Regions from separate parts of the Homo sapiens genome. Here regions 2, 3 and 4 are each linked to region 1. The links are contacts of gene promoters, found by promoter capture Hi-C in blood cells and fetal thymus (Javierre and others, 2016). All regions are on one chromosome and are shown on one strand. The core of a region is centred on a gene start or on the middle of the fragment in contact, and the rest is flanking DNA. Distances in the headings are between cores, read along the strand shown. Region 1 holds the start of PJA2 (praja ring finger ubiquitin ligase 2). Region 2 has its middle 87 kb from the start of LINC01023. Region 3 has its middle 46 kb from the start of LINC01023. Region 4 holds the start of LINC01023 (long intergenic non-protein coding RNA 1023).

Region 1 (4,805 bases), core at 1,293-3,792:
CACCAAACATCATAATTAATGCTAAAACATTAGAAGCATTCCCCCTTAAAGTCAGAAACAATGCCATGTTTGTTGTTAGCTATCAGTGCTATTAGTTTTTAATCTACCAGTGCTCAACATTTTATAAGATGTATAATTGCAAAAGCAATGAGAAAAACACATAAGTTATAAAAACTGAAAAGGAAACCACAAAACTGTGAATATCTCCTGATAATCAACTCAATAAAATAATCTGATACATGATAGAAAACTCAAAAGTTTTGCTATAACCAGAGAAAACAGAGAGAGAGAAATGTTACTGAAAGTTTCCATCCACCACACGAATCAAACCATAAAATAGGAATACCAGGAAGGAATGTTATACGTATGAAGAAAAAAAAGAAAAACTATAAAAATTTCCCTAACAGTATAAAACAAGATGTGAATAAAATGGAGAGGCCACATTTCTGAGGAGAGAGACTCAATACTATAAAGATCAGTTGTCTCCAAATTAATCTAAAATTTCAATATAACCTTATTCAAAATAGCTAAGGATTTTTAGTTCAGTCTAAAGTTTACCTAGAAGAAGAAATGCATAAGAAACATTCAAGAATATTTTCAACAAGAGTAATAAAGAGGGAGAAAGGGTTACCAAAATTTAAAATATGCATAATCTTTTAACTGAGCAACTTCACTTCTAGGAACCCATGCTCCAGAAATAATCACACATAGAGGAAGTTTACTGAATTGTTAACAGTGGCTGACAATCAAGATGCAAGCAGGACTAGAAGTGGAAGCGGTAATTTTTACCTTACATTCTTCCATACTGTTTAATTTTTTAAAATCAAGGATGAATTAAAATTTGTAATTAAACATCGATCAATAAATTAGAAAGTTATTTTCATTATAAATCATCATTTGTAATAGCAAAAAGAAACTGCAATTAAATGTCTTTCAAAAAGGGAATAGAATAAATTATAGCCCATTCAAACTCACGAGATACCAGTTAGCCTTTTAAAAAGTATTAGGGAGACCTATATGTAAAAAGTAAAAATGTCCAACATATGTAATTAAGTCAATAAGCAAGCGGTATGCAAACATGTTTGGTATATGGTATAGCCTCCCTCAAAAAAAAAAACTTTACGTGTACTTGTATGTGTCTAGAAGTGCATTTGCAAGATTTTGAAAAATGAACACTAAACTGTCAACTTTACACTGGAGTGGGACTGGGGGATGAAAAGAAATATTTAAATTTTACCTAACAGTCCGTTATTTATATTGTTGAAGTGTACATCAAACTTGCATGTCTGCAATGAATTTTTAAAATTAAGTGGTCATCTCATATAAAAATGACATGAACCCCAAAAGACAATTACAACACTGAAAAATACAGTTTAAACGTTTATTACTGTTATCCTCAGGTTTATTCACATACACTTCAAATGATCCGTAGCCTTCAGCAAAGGTGACTGCCATTTTAAAGAAATGTGACCAAATATTTCATGATAAAACAGAATACATTAAGCCTGCAATGAAAATTTTAAACTTCACAGAACCAGCAGACTCAAAAGAAGCGCCTATGCGGATGTAAATTTTTTTTTTTTTAATGTCCGGAGAAGGAACTCTCAGATTACTCTCCTCCCTGCAAAACGACTATTTACCACCTCCCCTTTGCTTCAACTTGGTCTGAGCGTCTTTAACCTCACCATTTTGAATGTGCGCAAAATGATTACCAGTCATCTGAGGGAGGCCAAATTAAAGGTGCATCTGCAAGAGGAGCTCTGGCCTGACATCGCTAACTGAGAGCAGCCCTGGCGGAAAGGTGCTGATCCCGGGAGTAGAGCGACTGCTGCGGCTCGAGCGGGGTGTCTGCGTGCCGAGCCTCACTGACAATCGGGGAAAATGCAGACGCCCAGCAAAACGACGGCAACAGAAGGCTCCTCGGGGGAGGGGTGCTGCAGGCCTGTGGCGTAAGATGGTTCCGCTCTACGCGGGGTGACGGGAAACCGCAGAAGGTGGGTGTGAGGTGTTGGTTGGGGGGCAAACTCTTGTACAGTGGCGAGTGTAGGGGAAAGCCAGCGGGCTCCTTGGCCAAGTCACCAAGGACAGCAGAAGAGGCAGCAGTAAAGAGCGGCAGCGAAGACCCCGATACCAACCAATGTCATCTGTCGGGGGGCGGCGGGCGCGACCGTCCCGGATAGGAGCGCGGCCCGGGTCCGGGCTGGACAGGGCCCAGGAGGCGAAGAAGGCCTCCCACAGCCATCAACCCCACCCACCATGGCCGGCGCAGCAGGCCAGGGACAAGCCCCGCTCCTTCCGAAGCTAGAGACAGAGAAACTGAGGAGCTGAACGCAGCAATTTCCTCGCCCCGACCCCCACACTCCCGACAGCGGAACAAGCCAGACTGAAAAAAAAAAAAAAAAACCCTCACCGAAATGTGCAGCGGCTCCGGAGCGAGAACAGCGCTCGAACCTCCACCCGCCACCACCGCCTTCTTCTCCGCCTCCAACTCCTCCCCCGCCGAACGCGAAGCGGCTGGCGGCTGTGGCGGCGGCGGCGGCGGTGGCGGCGGCGGAAGCAGAGGCGGTGGCGGTGAGTCCCGCCCCTTGCGCCGCGGTGGAGGCGAAGGAGGAGAGTACGCAAGCCCCTCCCCCATAGCAGAGATGACCAGTCAGCTTACAGGGTCTCTGCTGGGGGACAATGCATACGCCCAATCAGAACCTGAGGAGTGGGCTCACGTCAATGGTTGGGACGTGGCAGAAAAAGGGAAAAATACTTGGACCTTCTCTACAGCCTGCTCCCCCATCTCCCTCAGGGGGAGTTCACCAATTGGCTGAAGAGCGGAAAGACGAAGCCGACTCAGTCCCCCGCCCCAGCCGAGCCCACCTCCTTTCCCTGCAGTACTGCGACGTTTGGGGAGGGGGCGGAGCACCGTGTAGGAGCTAAAACTGCGCGGCCTTTTGTGGTTTGGGCTGAGAGAAAAGGGCGGGGTCTCGGAAAGGGAAGGGGGTGTGGAGAACTAACAGAAAGACTGGCGCAGTTAGGCTTTTTCGGAAATTCCAACAGCAACAACCAAAATGGAGGCATTAAAATCGATCCTGATTCGACTGGAAACCTGATTAACAAGGTTAAGGTCTCCTGGCATAAAGTTCAGTTACAATGCAGATATCGGTGAGACAAAAAAAAAAAATGACACGAAGAAAGGCTTGTTTACCCACCCTGACCCTGGGCACTATATGGCGCTTTCCACCCTCCCTCTCCGCGCTGACCCTTGCCCCTCGCTTCTTATTCTGCTGGGGCGGGGTTCAGAGGAGGCCTGCCTTTCCTCTGTATAGCCTTGGGCTGACCACAGCCTCCCAGCTTGCATCTTGAGGCTGTTTGTCAAGCCGGGAAGTAACAGCTCCCATCACATGCAACCAAAATAAATACAACAGCTGCAGTCCCCGGACACCTTGCTTAATTTAAACCTGGGTAACAGTTTAGTTAATTATGTCAGTGATACAAAACTGTTTCTTCGTTCCGCACATATTCCCTTTATTCATCTTGAAACGTGTCCGCTTATCTGATTACAGTCCCTCTGTCTTCTCTTATTCCCCACCCCCGACCCGTCGCCTGATGCCCAGGATATATTCATCGCCACCCCTCCCCCGCGAATTAAGAGCCCCACTTCTTGTGCTGTCCCCTTAACAACAGCGAACTCTCTTGCCAGTGAACTGAGACTAATTTTTTTTTGCTGTTGATGGAAATAAATTACCCAAAATTTACTGTAGAAATTTAGGTTTATGAGAATTTGCCAGACATTTTGTGAAATCCAATCTGAATCCCAGCCCACTCCTGTAGTACGTTTCTTACCAAAAAACCATTCCTTGCTTGATATTACTCTGCCTTCACACGTGTTGCTATAGGAGTTCTGACTTTAACCATCCAAGTACCTCTTTGAAAAAAAACAAAATTCATATTTTAATTACATTTCCCTAGTTTCCCTTTAGGGTGTTCCAGATTGGCCCAACTGGATACATTAACCTGTTCTAGAAGGCAGGGATTCCCAAATTTCAACCTTTTTCATACTGTATCTGTGTATACTACTCACTGTCCTTTTTTCTTTAAATAAATGTATATTTTCTTTAATTTCTTTAAGAAGGAGACTTTATAAAAGTACTATAAATGGAAAACTAGCATCACCTATTATAAGTTGAAAGTAACTGTAAGAAAAATGAATGCAAAACAATGTTTTTAAATTGTGGCTAGAAACTGTTGTCCACTAAAGGCTCTAAGTCTAAAGACAACTGTCTTTGTTAAAAGGGCAAGCTACCAAGCATTAGACACACATTAAAGATACAGCACTCAAATGGTATTTTTATCATGATGTCATCAAAGGATAGAAAAAATAGAGCCGGAATAGCAATCACTTTCTCACTATATGAGTCATTGTTTTTAATCCTGCATGCGTGTCCCAACTACAGTTAACCAAGGCATCATAAGTGATCTATGTTACTATGAGAAACACTGGTATGGAGGCTGAAAAAGCCTGTACTCTAGAATCAAGCAGACATATTCACATACTGGCTCCTGCATTTGTAGCCGTGTGCCTCTGGGCAATCTACTTTGTTCTCTGACCTCGATTTCCAGTTTATTATAAATATGGGAAAGTAATAATACCAATTCATGAGTTGTATAGATTAAATAACCTAATCAATGTAAAGCATATCATACCTACAATGAAGTACTAAATACATATTAGCTTATGTATTGTATTACTATATAGAGATAATAGTATGTATTATTCGCTTATATGTATTATTGTTGATTCCAGGGTTGGGAAGCAC
Region 2 (4,805 bases), core at 1,139-3,638, 770 kb before region 1:
AGCCTAAGAAATGCAGAGTGGTAGTGGAGAAATTGGGACTGCAAGGGGAAAATATGTGAAACTCACTTGTTGACAGCTATAATTGGGACTGAAATTGCATACATCCTTCAGTCTGTCTGTAAGGCTCAAACTACATCTTGAAACATGGTCAGTGTCAACAGAGAGCATTGTCCACTCTCACTCACCAATACTCCTCTCACAAGAAGCAAGAGCCCTGCAGTGCCTGGTGACCTACCCACAGCAACCGCTTCCTAATCATCCCCTCCCTCCTATAGCCATCACTCTCTACTAGGAGGAGTTGAGTTGCGTTACAGGAAATGCCTGCCTGGAAAAAGGCGTTAGCCTGTTTCTGTGTGGCTTTAAAGGATGGAATTTATAGACATCTGAGTAGACTGGAATCAGCATGGGCTGCCTAGTTCAACAGTCACTTCTAAATCTCTAGAGAGTTGAATTGGAGGCCTGGATGACCAGTGGTTATGAACATTGCTGAGGAGTAGTTGGGCCTCTGGCTTTTTTAAGCTTCCTTCCAATTCTAGGCTATGACTTAGTGATGTCTTTTGTTCATTTAAATCAGTTGAAGACTTAACAGAATTTAGGAATTGCACAGAAATAAATATTCCCTAGCAATGTCTAAAAATAAAGAACAAAACAAGAAACCTCTTGCTAACTCTAATGATACATTTGTGAATATGTCATTCGTCTGGACTGATGAGTACAGGAAGCCTGTGGTTTGGTGTACTGGAGATGATTGCTTAGCTTAAATTATACAAAGATTTCATTAATATAATTTCCTTGTCTCCTGTATGGATTTCTTTTAGCAGTCCCCATTACTGAAAAGAGAATACAAATCAACAAATAAGTTCTTTTCTCTTCAACAATCTCAATATTAGGTCAGTGAAATTTTTTTAATTTGAAAGTACTTTTTTCACTTCTACTAGTGTAAATAATCCAAGAGTTATTATTATTATTATTATTATTATTATTATTGGTCTTTTTTACCTTCCTTCCTTTGAAAAACCTTCTATTTGTGATTGAAAGATTGGGGAAAAGTAACTATTTTATGGTCCTGGCTGTGTCTAAACCCTAATCTAAAAATTTGCTGGCATTCTCTCATTGAAGTTGTCACAGCTTACATATTTAGTTTTCTATAATATCTCATACACCAAAATCCAAAAACCACAAAAACAAATCTTTCCTTGGTTTTACATCATTTAGATGCTTCAAGGTAATAGGCATCCGTTGTTTGCAAAGCCCATTCTGGGTCTGGATGTGTGCTAGATGAGGTACAAAGATATCACAGGTGAGCTGAGGACAAAACCAGAGCCAGAGCCTCCCATGATGATCAACTTTGCTGTATGTCATGTTCCACAGAGTCATTGCAAGGCTAACTTTGGTCAGAGAGTGCTAAAGTGGAGGTGCCAGAAAGAAGGAGAATGTGGACCCCATGCCGGACACATGTTTGCATATATTATTTCATTTAGTCTTCACACTCACCTTGACTGGTTTATAAATGGAGAATCTTTCATGTCAAGAGGTTAAGTAACTTGCTCAAGGTCAAACAGCTAAGAAGTGACAGCAACAGGATTAAAATCTTGGCTGGGCGCAGTGGCTCATGCCTGTAATCCCAGCACTTTGGGAGGCCAAGGTGGGCGGATCACCTGAGGTCAAGGGTTCCAGACCAGACTGACCAACATGGAGAAACCCCGTCTCTACTAAAAACACAAAAATTAGCCGGGTGTGATGGCACATGCCTGTAATCCCAGCTACTCAGGAGGCTGAGGCAAGAGAATTGCTTGAATCTGGGAGGCAGAGGTTGCAGTGAGCCAAGATTGCACTCCAGCCTGGGCAACAAGAGTGAAACTCCATCTCCAAAACAAACAAACAAACAAACAAACAAACAAACAAAACAGGATTAAAAAAAAAAAACAGGATTGAAATCTTGCTATAATTTCAGGGCCAAGAGAAAGGCCTATTGTGAGTATAAGTTTATTACCCTACTGACTGATTGATGTATGAAATTTTGCTGTTAAAGCTAATTTTGTATAGTGGTTTTCCAAATGCATTCTTCCAAAAATTACCATTCTAAAGTTTTAGTGGTTTTTCAGTGGTTCTAGAAAATTTTATTGGAATTTCATTTATAAAACAGAGTTCTAATTTGAATGAAATGCATGTGTTATTTACCAACACCTGCAACACCACGAAAATATTCATTTAAATTCTATTGGTTAATTTCATAAGTAAATGTCACAAATTGGGACTTACAAAAAAAGAACCCTGTTTTTTAAAATAACACTTTTTGTGTTGTTCTATAATTGGAATTCTGTTACTGCCTTATTTCTCTGATTCTCTTTTCATCAATATTTACTGAAAGAAGTAATATTCTTTGATTACATTTCCTACACCCCCTTGCTCTCTGAAGCCCACTTCAATCAGAACTCAATCCTGTCCACTCCAACAAAGCTGTGATAGTCTGTGTCATGACTGCCTTGACGAAAGCCAGCCAGGACACCCAAATTCTGGGGTTATTTTTTGCTCTTACCTCACTGGCTCCTCAGAAACATTCAACACAGATAACAGCACCATTCTTCAAATCCTTTCCCCCATGGCTTCCAGGGCACTGTAGTTTCCTGGTTTCCTAACCTCCCTCTCCTGGTCCCCACCACTGGATCTTCTTCCTCACTTTGTCCCCTAATCTACCTGCTGATAACTGGCCCTTACCCTTAGTTTCAGAACCATATATTCAGCCCTTATTTGATATCTCCACAGGGAAGTTTAACAGAGTTCATATTTAATGTGTCCAAAACAATATTCTTGATCTTCCCCTCTCAACCTATTCCTCGCATATTGTGCCCCATCTTGGTAAATGACCTTACTGTCTACCCAGTTGCTCCGACTGAAAATATGAGAGTAACCCTTGACTCCTTTTCCTTTACTTTCCACAGCTAACTGACTGACAGGTCCTATCAGCTTTATCTCCAAAATGTATCCTGAGTCACTCTCTCCAGCCCTGCTGCTACCGTTCCAGTCCAAATAACCAACATTTCTTCTGAGTTTCTGCTCCAGCCTCCTGCTTCCACTCTTTCCCCTTCTCCAGTTCTCCATTCTCCCTGCCATAGCTCAGGGTTTCTCAAGCACGTCACGACGGACAGTTTAGGCTGCCTATTTCTTTGTTGTAGGGGGTAGTCCAGACATGGTAGGCTGTTTAGCAGCATCTTTGGCCTTTGCCCACTAGATGTCAGTAGCACTCCCCAGTGTGACAACTGAAGCTGTCTCCAGGCATGGACAAATGTCCCCAGGAGGCAAAAATCACCCCCTGTTGAGAATCCCTGCCATAGCATGAACAATTTTTACTTTTAAAAAATGAGTCATAATTAATGATAATGGTAAGTAGTAAAATTTAAAATAAAATAAAATAACAATAATAGTAATGTCACTTCTCTCATTTAAACCCTCCAGTGACTCCCCAAGTCTCTTACCACAGCCAGGAAGGCTCTGCATGATCTGGTTCCTGCCAACCTCTCTGACTTTAAGGCCCCCATGGCCTGATTTCTATTCCTTATATAAACAAACTCATTCTCACCTCAAGGCAATCACACTTGCTATTCTTTATATCTAGGGCACCTTTCCCTTAACTTCCTGCATGGCCACTTTCTTTACACAGTGGATCCAACTCCTCAGAAACTTCTCTCACCACCCTACCTCGTGTGTCCCCACATCACATTATCATGTCTGTTTTCTTCCCAGCATCTATAGTTAGTTACGTGAGATGACTTCATGTACATGTTTCCTTATCTGTCTCCTCAGCTACAATATAAACTCCTAGTCTTTTGTGCACACCACTATGTCTCCAGTGTCCTGAACAGTGCCAGGCACACAGTAGGTGCCCAAGAAATACTCACTGAGTTTTAAAATTCTTCAAGAGGCCAGGTGTGGTGGCTGTAATCTCAGTGCTTTGGGAGGCTGAGGCAGGAGGATGGCTCGAGGCCAGGAATTCAAGATCAAGGCAACGTAGTGAGACTCCATCTCTAAAAAAATTATTAAAAATTAGCCAGGTATGGTGTCTTGTGCCTGTAGTCCCAGCTATTTGGTAGGCTGAACCAAGAGGATTGCTTGAGCCCGGGAGTTTGAGGCTGCAGTGAGCTAAGATTGTGCCACTGGACTCCAGTCTGAGCAACAGAACAAGACCCTGTTTCTAAAAAAAATAAAATAATGATGATTCGTCATGTCTTGGATTAACATACTGATGTGGTTATATGCAAAGCTTCTCAGTCTAAATGTTTGCAAGTATTTTTAGTAGAACAGGAGACTGGTCACACACAGCTCAAATAAATTCTCATGTTGACATTATGCATTTGATGGGATGCATGTGGAGAATGTCCCTTTCGTAAGGAAAAGTTATTGGCTTGATTGGATTATAATTGGAGCCCAAATACTAATAAACGAAGTTTGGCAAAGTTAAGACCATGAAACTCATCTTTGTAAGTGACCTAAGCTTGTTGAAACCCATTCCCAGAGGTGAAAGCCTAATGAATCTATCTCTTGTGCCATGGGGCCTTCTGTTGATATAAGCTTTGTCAGGGGAATGAGGTATTGACGTTTTAATGTCTGTGGATTATGGTAATGCGCTTAACTATATTGATCTGTTCAGTATTCTGTACTTGCTTTGTTGCTATCCCAAAACTCCAAAAGAAGGAGGTGTCCAGATGGTCATAACACAGACTATGAAAAGGAATCAAAGAAGTAGAATATCAGTGTAATTCATAAAATATAAGACATCAAATTTTGACACCTCAGTTGAGCCACAG
Region 3 (4,805 bases), core at 836-3,335, 730 kb before region 1:
TACTGAATTTTCCATTGTAATTTTTAATTAAGAAAAATACCCTTTATTGTCCCAAAGATTTATTAAATCAATCTCACCTGATAATATACATACATTTGTGAATGGTGAGATTACCTTAACCATCCCAAAGGTGTTTACTATCTTCATATGAGGTTTTGGTATTAATAAATCAAATGATTTCTTATTGATGAAAATTTTAGGCAATGTAAAAAATAGAAATTTTTAGAGTAATTAAGTCATGAGAAGGTGCTTTTGGGGCTTTGGGGGAATCCATTAAGCTGCCCTTGCTCTTGAGAGCATCCCCATTTCTTCACTTCTGAAATGACAAGATCTTTCAAAGCCCCAACATGGCTTGAGTGTTTGAAAGCTCTAGGATGATTTTTATTTGTTCTCTCTGATAGAAATGTCAAATGCAGGAGTTTGTGTGACACAAAATGTTTAGGCACACATAGCTGTTGCCATGAACAAAATCTTCTGTATACAAAGGAAGTATTCTGAACTGTTTCCATTTTAGTTTCCAGTAGCCTTTAAAATAACCAAATAAGATCAATCATTAGGGCTTAATGACCCAGAAACTAATGCTGGAAACATTTACTCTTTAATGATGTCTCCTCTTCCTTCCTTGGCCTCCCTAACTAACATAAATTCATCATTTGTCTGTGTCTATGAAGTAAGATCAGATTGACTGGGGGTCTCTTCTCAATATTTTTTTTTTACCTTAACCATGTACTGCAGTTGATCAGAGCAATTAACAGTGATCCAATCCAGACAGAAAGTTATTTTAAATAACCTGACAACCAATCTGAATTCCAACTCTATGAAGGAAACTTGGCCAAAATGTGTTTAGTGTGTTCAAACATAGGCACTATTCAAAATCAAAGCAGAAAAAAAATGAAACTCTGTTAAAAGTGGCTCAAGATGAAGGCATTGCAATTCCCATCTTGAGGGCGGCTGATGAGTTCTTTTCAAGGTGAGGTGTGCCCTAGCATGCAGAGAGGACAGAAAGGGATAAAAGGAACAAATAAGCAAACAGAATGTGCTCTCAGAACTCCCAGCTTGATTTCCTCAAAGAAAAAGTAGAAATAGATCAAATCAAAGCATTCTTTAAAGATGCTGAGGTGGCTTTAACTGACTAAAATGTAGCTTTAAAAAAATCAGTATCCTAAATGCCAGGTGATTAATAAAGGTCAAGCAGGCAACTTCCGGACTTTATCAGTATAAGCTTAGTCGTGTGCCTTTATTAGGAAATGATCAATACCTTCCTACTTAGCAATATTTTAGGGAATATTTTCCTATAATAGGTAAGGTTTTTAAAATATGAAGACAAAAGTGTAGTATAGTTACTTTGTTTTTCTGGTAGAGCTAAGGAAGTAAATGAACCTCACAATAGTCAGTTTATGCACCCAAGTGAGATTAATTGCTTTACTTACACCATTACATTATTACACAATTCTTGTTATGTGGGGTTTTAAAAGTCTTCACTGTTTAAGCTGTTTTCATTTTAGTTATTCTGTTATTTACAACTGAAAGAGAAAACTGGAGAGGTCTTTGTGAATCTCTACCATATTTTTTTATGACTTTTGATTTCAAGAACCAAAATTGAGGATAAACCTGAAGCAAACACTGTTGAAATGGCCTTTGCAGTACAGACTTCATAGGCTAGAGGGCACAATTGTTTTAGCTGGTCCAAGGCAATGGAAAGCAAAACCTAGTCAACTGTTTCTTACACAGTGACCTAGCAGTTTTAAAATTTGGACCAAGAACGTGAAATTGCTCCTCGCTAAAAATCCACATCTGCTGGAAGAAACAGTAGAATAAAATGTGCATTTTCTATAGTAGTTTTGGATGTTTTTTGCAGAGGTCCTGGGCTTGTGAGAAAAAATAGAACACTCCAAAAGGTCCTTTGGTTCAGCAAAATTTTCCTATCTTAGATTTATCAAGCTGTCCACTCAGTTTTCAATGTGGCCTTTTCCTTCTAAAAATAACATCCTCAGCCGGGCGTGGTGGCTCATGCTTGCAATCCCAGCACTTTGGAAGGCCAAGGCGGGCAGATCACCTGAGGTCAGATGTTTGAAACCAGCCTGCCCAACATGGTGAAACCCCGTCTCTACTAAAAATACAAAAAAAAAAAAAAAAAAAAAAAAAAAATTAGCCACGCGTGGTGGCAGGTGCCTGTAATCCAAACTACTTGGGAGGCTGAGGCAAGAGAATCACTCGAACCCGGGAGATGGAGGTTGCAGTGAGCCGAGATCACGCCACTGCATTCCAGCCTGGGCTACAAGAGCAAAACTCCGTCTCAAAAACAAATAAAATAAAATAAAAAATAATAACAGCCCCTCCCTCCAATGTTTGTATGTATATATGCATATAACGTACTTGACAAGGAACTTGGTAAATACTTGACTATCATTAGGAAATTACAGGGTTGATTCTAAGTAGTGAGATTATGTCTTCTATGAAAATGGTTTCTTTTTAAAATGTACACATATTAATAATTTTTTTTTCCTAAAGCAGTTAGTTAGTCAATGATATTGTGTGGCCTTAACATTGTCTCTGCCTTTATTTGTTCCCTTCCTGCTTAGGGCTTTCTGGATCTTCTTTGCTGTTTTACCTTTTTTAATATGAAATGCTTCTGGTTTCTCCTCCTCACATATCATGTATGACCCCAAGTCCCAGATTATTTTTCTCTTTACTCATTTCTTCTGCTTCCTTCATGCCAGCACACCCAGGCAGAAGGAGAGCCACAGGAAAAGTGACCTCCACACTCACAAATTCCTGCTTCATTTCATCATGTTTTTTGCCTCACAAACTACAATTCTTATTCCCAAATTCAAATTTTTTCTTGAGTGATAGTTGTCTTTCTCTTCTTTCTGCACACCCAAAGATCTCAAGTAGGATATTTGGGGACTGATGAAGGGGAGAACTCAAGGAAATGATTGGGGCCTCAAAGAAGCTTCTAGGCCAGGTGTGGTGGCTCATGCCTGTAACCCCAATACTCTGAGAGGCTGAAGTGGGAGGATTGCTTGAGCCTAGGAGTTCAGCGCCAGCCTGGGCAAAAGAAGGAGGCCCTATTTCCACACAAAAAAATTTTTAAATAGCCAGGCATGGTGATGGGTACCTGTGGTCCCAGCAACTTGGGAGGCTGAGATGGGAGAATCGCTTGAGCCCAGCAGGTTGAGGCTACAGTGAGCCGTGATCATGATCATACCACTTTACTCCAGCCTGGGCAACAGACTGAGATCCTGTCTCAAAAAAAAAAAAGAAAAGAAAAGAAAAAAGAAGAAGTTTCTAGATAAGGGATAAATGTCTCATTAGATATGATGTTAAATACTTTTTGAAGCCAATCTTTCCACTTCCACCTATGAAATATATTCCAAACCCATCTGTGGTAGGCAGAATGTTGGGCCTCATGACCTTCTCCCTCTGGAGTCACTCCTGTGAATATGTTACTTTACATGGCAGAATGGACTTGACAGGTGTAATTAAGGTTACTAATCAGCTGACCTAAAATGGAAGGTTATATTGGCTTATCCAAGTAGGCCCAATGGAATCACGTGAGCTCTTAAAAGCAGAGATATTTTTCCAGCTAGTAGTAGAAGATAAAGTCAGATATTCCAAGATGAAAAGGATTAAAAGTGCTGCTGTTAACTTGAAGATTAAGGTAACCATGTCAAGGAAATGGCAACCTCAGTCCTATAACCTCAAGAAACTGAATTCTGGCAGGGTGCAGTGGCTCACGCCTGTAATCCCAACACTTTGGGAGGCCGAGGCAGGCAGATCATGAGGTCAGGAGATTGAGATCATCCTAGCTAACACGGTGAAACCCCATCTCTATTAAAAATACAAAAAATTAGCCGGGCATGGCAGCGGGCACCTGTAGTCCCAGTTACTCAGGAGTCTGAGGCGGGAGAATGGCGTGAACGTGGGAGGCGGAGCTTGCAGTGAGCCGAGATCGTGCCACCGCACTCCAGCCTGGGCGACAGAGCAAGACAATGTCTCAAAAAAAAAAAAAAGAAAAAAAAGAAACTGAATTCTGCCAACAAACTGAATGCGCTGGAAAGCAGAATCTCCTCAAGAGCCTCCAGATGAGCCCTGTCCTGCTGATGCCTTGATTTCAGCTCTGCTAAACCCTGAGTAGAAGACCCAGTTGAGCAATTGCTGTGCCCAGACTCTTGACCCACAGAACTGTGTCCATGATAATTATTTACACCACCATTCTTGTTACGTGGGATTTTAAAAGTCTTTCCTGTTTAAGCTATAGTTCTTCTCTTATTTATATTTTAAAAAGAAAATTTATATTGTCTTCTCAAGCTGTGAAAAAAAGGCTTAAAAGTTAAAACTTTCTTTGCATATGTATTATAGAAATGTATTGGTCTTTTGATGAAAGAATGCAGCTGTCTTTGCACTGACTGAATGGATGTCAAGTGCTAGGCTCTGTGCTAGTCAGTTTATAGATCCCACTTCCAGTCCTCATCACAACTTTTATGTCCCAGAGGGAAAACAAATGATCAAATTGAGGGAAAAAAACAGCAACCATATCTGGTGATAAGAAAAATAAGGAACGTTATTTCAAAAAGGAGGCAGGTATATAAGGAAATAGTTTATTTTTGAATCTGACTCCAGTATGTAAAATGTCCAGGGTTTTAGGAGCCACCTACAGAGGGGAAATGTTTCTATCTTTAAGGGTTATGAACCCAGCCTTTCTCTCTGGATGCACTTAACATTTTTTCCTTCATTTCAACCTTGGTGAATCTGACGATTATGTGTCTTGGGGTTGCTCTTCTCGAGGAATATCTTTGTGTTGT
Region 4 (4,805 bases), core at 1,203-3,702, 680 kb before region 1:
AAAATAGAGAATAAACAGAACAAAAATGTGACTACGTATTACCCATAAATGTCAGGAAGGGACTACACTTAAGAAGAGAGGAAGCTGTGGATGGGGATGGGCATGGAGGTAGGGGTGCTTCTGAGCCCTACCAATATTCTACTTCTTGACCTTGATTGGTGATTATACAGTGTTCCTATTATAGTAATTCATTAAACAGCATACTTATGTTTTTATGCAATTATTATAATATGTTTTCATTTAACAATAAAAACATTTTTTAAAAAGTAAAATATAACAGCTTCTAAAAACTTCTGACTTTTTAAACTTTGAAAGATGTTCAAGAATTTTTTGTGTCAGAATGTCCTGATTTTAGAAATCTTTTGAAAATCAAAGATACAAAAGACATTGCAATGATAAAAATCTACGAAGTACATATATCTGTGCATAAAAATTTGATCAAAGTCACTCATTTAGCAAATTCACTTCTCCCAAAGGCTATCAGTCTTAATACTCTTTTTCATAATGTTACTATACCTTTGCTTTAAGATAATTTATGCTTCATTCACTCAAAGCTAACTTTTAAATTTTAAACAACAAATCCATAGGTCATAAAGAGGGCACATTCTAAGACGAAAGAACATTCCAGAGTCTGGTAGCATTATTTCAGAGTTTAATAAGGAGTTTAAAACATCTAATTTTGTAAAACTTCTGCTAATTTGATATTAACTATTTCTAGAACAAAATGCAAAAAGCAAAGCATTTACTATTGAGTTTCTAATAGTCATTGGGTGGGCAAGTGTCAAGAAAAGAAAATTGATTAATGTAATATAGAATAAATCAGTGTCCTCAACCAGGGACAATTTTGTCCTCCAGGAGACATTTGGCAACGTCTGGAGACATGTATGTTTGCCACAATGAAGAAGGGGTAGTACTAATGGCATATAGTGGATAAAGGCCAGGGATGCTGTTAAGCATTGTACATTGCATAGGACAGGCCCTGTAAAAGAAATCAATGACACTTGCTAAAGCATGGCAAGGAGGACTTTATTCAAGATCATTGCCATAGGTATAGGGACTATTGCAATAAGATTTTGCAGTTGGGGAGAGAGATTGTGCTCAACTCTGTATATAGCATGGGGCAAGTGGGAATTTATAGAGAAGGAGCAGGGTAGGAGAAGTGAATGGACAACTGCTAAGAGGAAGCATCAAGGGTAAGGAGGGTTCTGGCTAACACAACCTAACAGGATTCTTGCTTATGACAGGCTAGGGTTATTAGATTTCGTCTAAGGGATGTTGGAGGATGAGGAACATATTGATGGTGATCATATATCAAGGATGCGGGTGATGGGGGGCAGTTGCTAAACTGACTCAACAGTTTGTTGCTAAATCTGATTTTACAAGAAAGTATACAGACAGGCCTAGGAGAAGGTTCAGGAGCCTGAATAAAGTTTGGTCAAGCAAAGAATTTTTATCACCCTCCATAACAAGGAAGTACCTGGCCCGATATGTAAACAGTGCCCAGGATGAAAAACCTTAGAATAAATGAATAAATGAATCAAGGAGTTATCACATATTGTTAAGCAAAAAAGTAGATTATAAAAGATTAAAATTAGTGTGATTCCCTTTTTGTAAAAAACCCCAAACAACTGTGCATATGTAATGTGTGTGTATGTATATGTATTCACAAAAATGTTAACAATTATTAGCTCAGAATGATGAAATCATGGATGAATTTTACTTACTTTTGCTTTATTTTGTTAATCTGTAATTTCTTATTTTTCCATAGTTAATTACATTACTTGAACAATAAGAAAAATACAGTTTGGTTTCTACCAAAGAAAGAACATTGACTGTGGCATCAGAAAGAGCAGGGTTTGAACACTAGTTGTATCTCTCACATTTTAATCTTCTGAGATAATTGTCTTGCTGGTAAATGCGGAAATAATACTTCACAGGCTTGCTCCTTTTCTCCTGTTTAGTTTAAATACAACTATATACATATATACACACACATATCACTGCAATAGAAAAAAAAACTGAATAAATTTATTTTACAAATATCTTTAATGTGTGAGAAAAGTATATTTATTTACAGGGTAAGAAGATTGATGATGATGTGTGAGGATTCTGAAGGGGATCGCTAGGCATTTTCAAAGACTGGATAAGTTAGCCTCCCACTTATCCCTATTTCACCTAAAAACTGATTTAACAATGATTTGTTTTTTTGCCAGGCATTGAGCTAAGTAAAAGAACAAATGAAGAAACAAATTTAAAAACTCAATCTCTATCCTCAAAGAAGTCTAATTAATAAGTGGAGAATGACACAAACAACAAGTCATAATGCAATGTATTAAATACTATCATAGACATATTCACAAAATATTATGGGAACAAAGAGGAGGAACTGAGTTTCTTACTAGTATCCTATAGCATAATACTATGCTCATGTTATTATAATTTGATCTCTTCTTTGGTTCTAAAATAGATTGGTGAAGCACCTTTCTAACCATAAACAGGAAAGAGGAGAAAAAAAGTAATGAATATGAATGTACAGAAGGTGCCTAAAGTAGAATCACAGTGCTGTGAGCAGTAACAAGCAGAAGAACTTAAAGGATAAGCTATGTACAAAATCTCCCTGAAGGCAGGAAGGCAGGTGGTGGAGTGAAGTTGAGTCAGCCTCCATCCTGTTACCATCAGATGGTTCTCAAATGCCTGGCTGGCATCTGGACTGGGAGAACAGCAGATGAAAGGACCCAGAGTGGGAGGAAAATGAATCAGTATGCGATCAGCAAATTGTACCTTGGATTGGGATAGGATTCTTATAATTTAAAAATGTGCCTATATTCAATAACTGCAACTATTTAGAGTAATGGTAGCCTACTGTATTATCAGGAAGTGGTTAAAGAGTAAACATGTTCTGGAGGCAGGGAGATACTTGGGATACAGAAATGAGCGTGCTGAGTAAGAACACAATTGCTTCAGAATGTGCAATTCAACGCTGAATACAGGGTTCCAAATGCAGTTAACATCAACTAAAGAATTTAGCGAAAGGGTGTAGCAGAGTGTAAGTTGGAATTAAATATGGGTCCTTGGTCTGATAGAGAACATTTCAAGCAAGTTCGTTGTTTATATCTGACTTAGAAGGCAATGAGAAACCATACAAGATACGATACTGCTTTCTTCACATTTTCAAAAATATCTATTTTGATCAAAAGGAGTTAGGAAGAACCTGCATGGTGGACTATAACAGATAATAATGGAAGGACTATTCGGACCAAAAATAGTTACCAGTTTCATTGTCCTACTATGTGGAGGGGACAGAGCTGAGAGAAGGGGAAGAGAATAAGGCATTGAGTGGCGTTCTACTACTGGTGTGTGCCAAATACCAATTTCAGCATAAGGACTCAACCCGGAAGGAGCCAGCTGGAGTCCTTATGCTATTCCCGAGGCCTGAAACACGAGTCTAGCTGGTTCGGCCTCATCTGTCAGGTCACAGCTGCAATATTACTTCCTCAGGGAAGCCCTTTCTTTCTTCCTCTTCTCCATCTCCACCCCCTTCCCAAAAGGGCCTCCCGCTATAAGCTCTCAAAGTTGTAATTACATGTGTCTTGTAGTTAACTATTTAGAGTCTGTCTCCACGTCCAGGCTCCAACCAACCTCTCATCCTCAAATGTCTTCACAAGGTCGGTGATCTTGGCAGTTTTACTGACCAAAGAGTGGGGGCTCATCTCCAGCACCTTGCAGTATTGACAGGAAAGTCACTGAGTAGCAAATGAATGCATGAATGAGCTCGTGTTGTTAATATTGCCAGGCCCACAGGAAGCACCCAACAAAGAGCAATGATTGGTGTTCGCGTTCATTATCTCATTTAATTCTTACAAAACCACGGCAAGGATTCAACCCCACAACTGCTGTCTAGAAAACCGAGGAAAGTGACGCAACCCGCGGGAGGTCTGACGGCCCGAGAGCCGCAGCGCCAGGCCCGGGAGCCAGCCCCGTCCACTTCCCCGGTGGATTCTTCTCCGTTCCCCGCCGGCCGCCCCAGGTGAAGCTCCTTTCCGCCGTCAGAAGGAGGCTCCCAGCGGGAAGCAGCATCGAGGGCGACCCAGGGCCAGCACGGGAAATGCCAGGGACCGCGTCAGCCGAGCCTGCTGGAACCCCGCTCCTCGCTGCAGACGCCGTTCCGCCTGAGGACAGTACTCGGGCATGGGGAGTCAGGTGCCCGCCACAGGAACGCAAGAGACCGCGCCGGACCAGCGAAAAAGCTCCATGCTCTCCTGGTTTTCCAACCCGACGCCGCGGCCTGCGGCCACTCTAGGACGCCGGAGGGTCCTCCTCTCAGTGGTTGGGGCTGGGCCGCCCTGCGCCGGGAGCCGCCCACCTTCGGGCTGGGCCGGGCCTGGCCAGAGTCTGGGCTAAGCGCAGGGCCTGCATGAATCTTCAGCCTGGGAGGTGGGGCAGGAGCACGGAGAAGTCTCGAAGAAGTGGAGGAAGCACGCACTGGCTGCCGCGGGAAAAGCTCAGCCAGCAACTGTATCAGCTTTACATTCGACCCTCCTTTGCTGCATGGCAAAAAGAAAATAAACTACCATTTCTTAGTTCGTGTTTTATTTTCAGCTATTTCTTGTTTCCTTGGTTTCGATTCTAATTATTGCTGTAGACGCCTTCAGGTGGTGGAAGCCAAGGCAAGGAACCCCTGACCGCAATTTCCTAACCTTTGGGCAGAGTGTGGGGTGTGGGGACTCCCCGCCTGCCTTTCCCCGCCCCCCCTTCATAGAGACCTAAAAACCTTTAAAAAGGATCTAACACTAGCTCTATTATCT

Evidence for each region. The method cuts DNA at HindIII sites, captures the fragments that hold promoters and counts their contacts. A CHiCAGO score of 5 or more calls a contact.
Region 2: a fragment that was not itself captured here is called in contact with the fragment with the promoter of PJA2 in region 1 in 1 of 17 cell types (M0 macrophages); the score reaches 5.2 in M0 macrophages.
Region 3: a fragment that was not itself captured here is called in contact with the fragment with the promoter of PJA2 in region 1 in 1 of 17 cell types (naive B cells); the score reaches 7.2 in naive B cells.
Region 4: a fragment that was not itself captured here is called in contact with the fragment with the promoter of PJA2 in region 1 in 1 of 17 cell types (total B cells); the score reaches 5.5 in total B cells.

Annotation. Positions count from the first base shown.
Region 1 is chr5:109,407,432-109,412,236 of GRCh38, forward strand. PJA2 (praja ring finger ubiquitin ligase 2) reads right to left here and starts at 2,543. Exons shown (of 10, transcript NM_014819.5): 1 at 2,411-2,543. RefSeq lists enhancers at 1,628-1,727, 1,768-1,887, 2,998-3,177 and a silencer at 2,408-2,487. The HindIII fragment of the contact is 12,845 bases long and covers 1-4,805 here.
Region 2 is chr5:108,639,254-108,644,058 of GRCh38, forward strand. No RefSeq gene overlaps it. Among named protein-coding and RNA genes, the nearest start is that of LINC01023, 87 kb to the right of the region's middle. RefSeq lists an enhancer at 3,075-3,369. The HindIII fragment of the contact is 3,742 bases long and covers 518-4,259 here.
Region 3 is chr5:108,679,824-108,684,628 of GRCh38, forward strand. No RefSeq gene overlaps it. Among named protein-coding and RNA genes, the nearest start is that of LINC01023, 46 kb to the right of the region's middle. RefSeq lists an enhancer at 1,572-2,072. The HindIII fragment of the contact is 1,731 bases long and covers 1,221-2,951 here.
Region 4 is chr5:108,723,994-108,728,798 of GRCh38, forward strand. It overlaps LINC01023 (long intergenic non-protein coding RNA 1023), which reads right to left and starts at 4,268. Exons shown (of 1, transcript NR_046368.1): 1 at 3,832-4,268. It overlaps LOC107986440 (a long non-coding RNA gene), which reads right to left and starts at 271. Exons shown (of 4, transcript XR_001742836.2): 1 at 1-271. RefSeq lists enhancers at 3,511-4,092, 3,932-4,231. The HindIII fragment of the contact is 9,255 bases long and covers 1-4,805 here.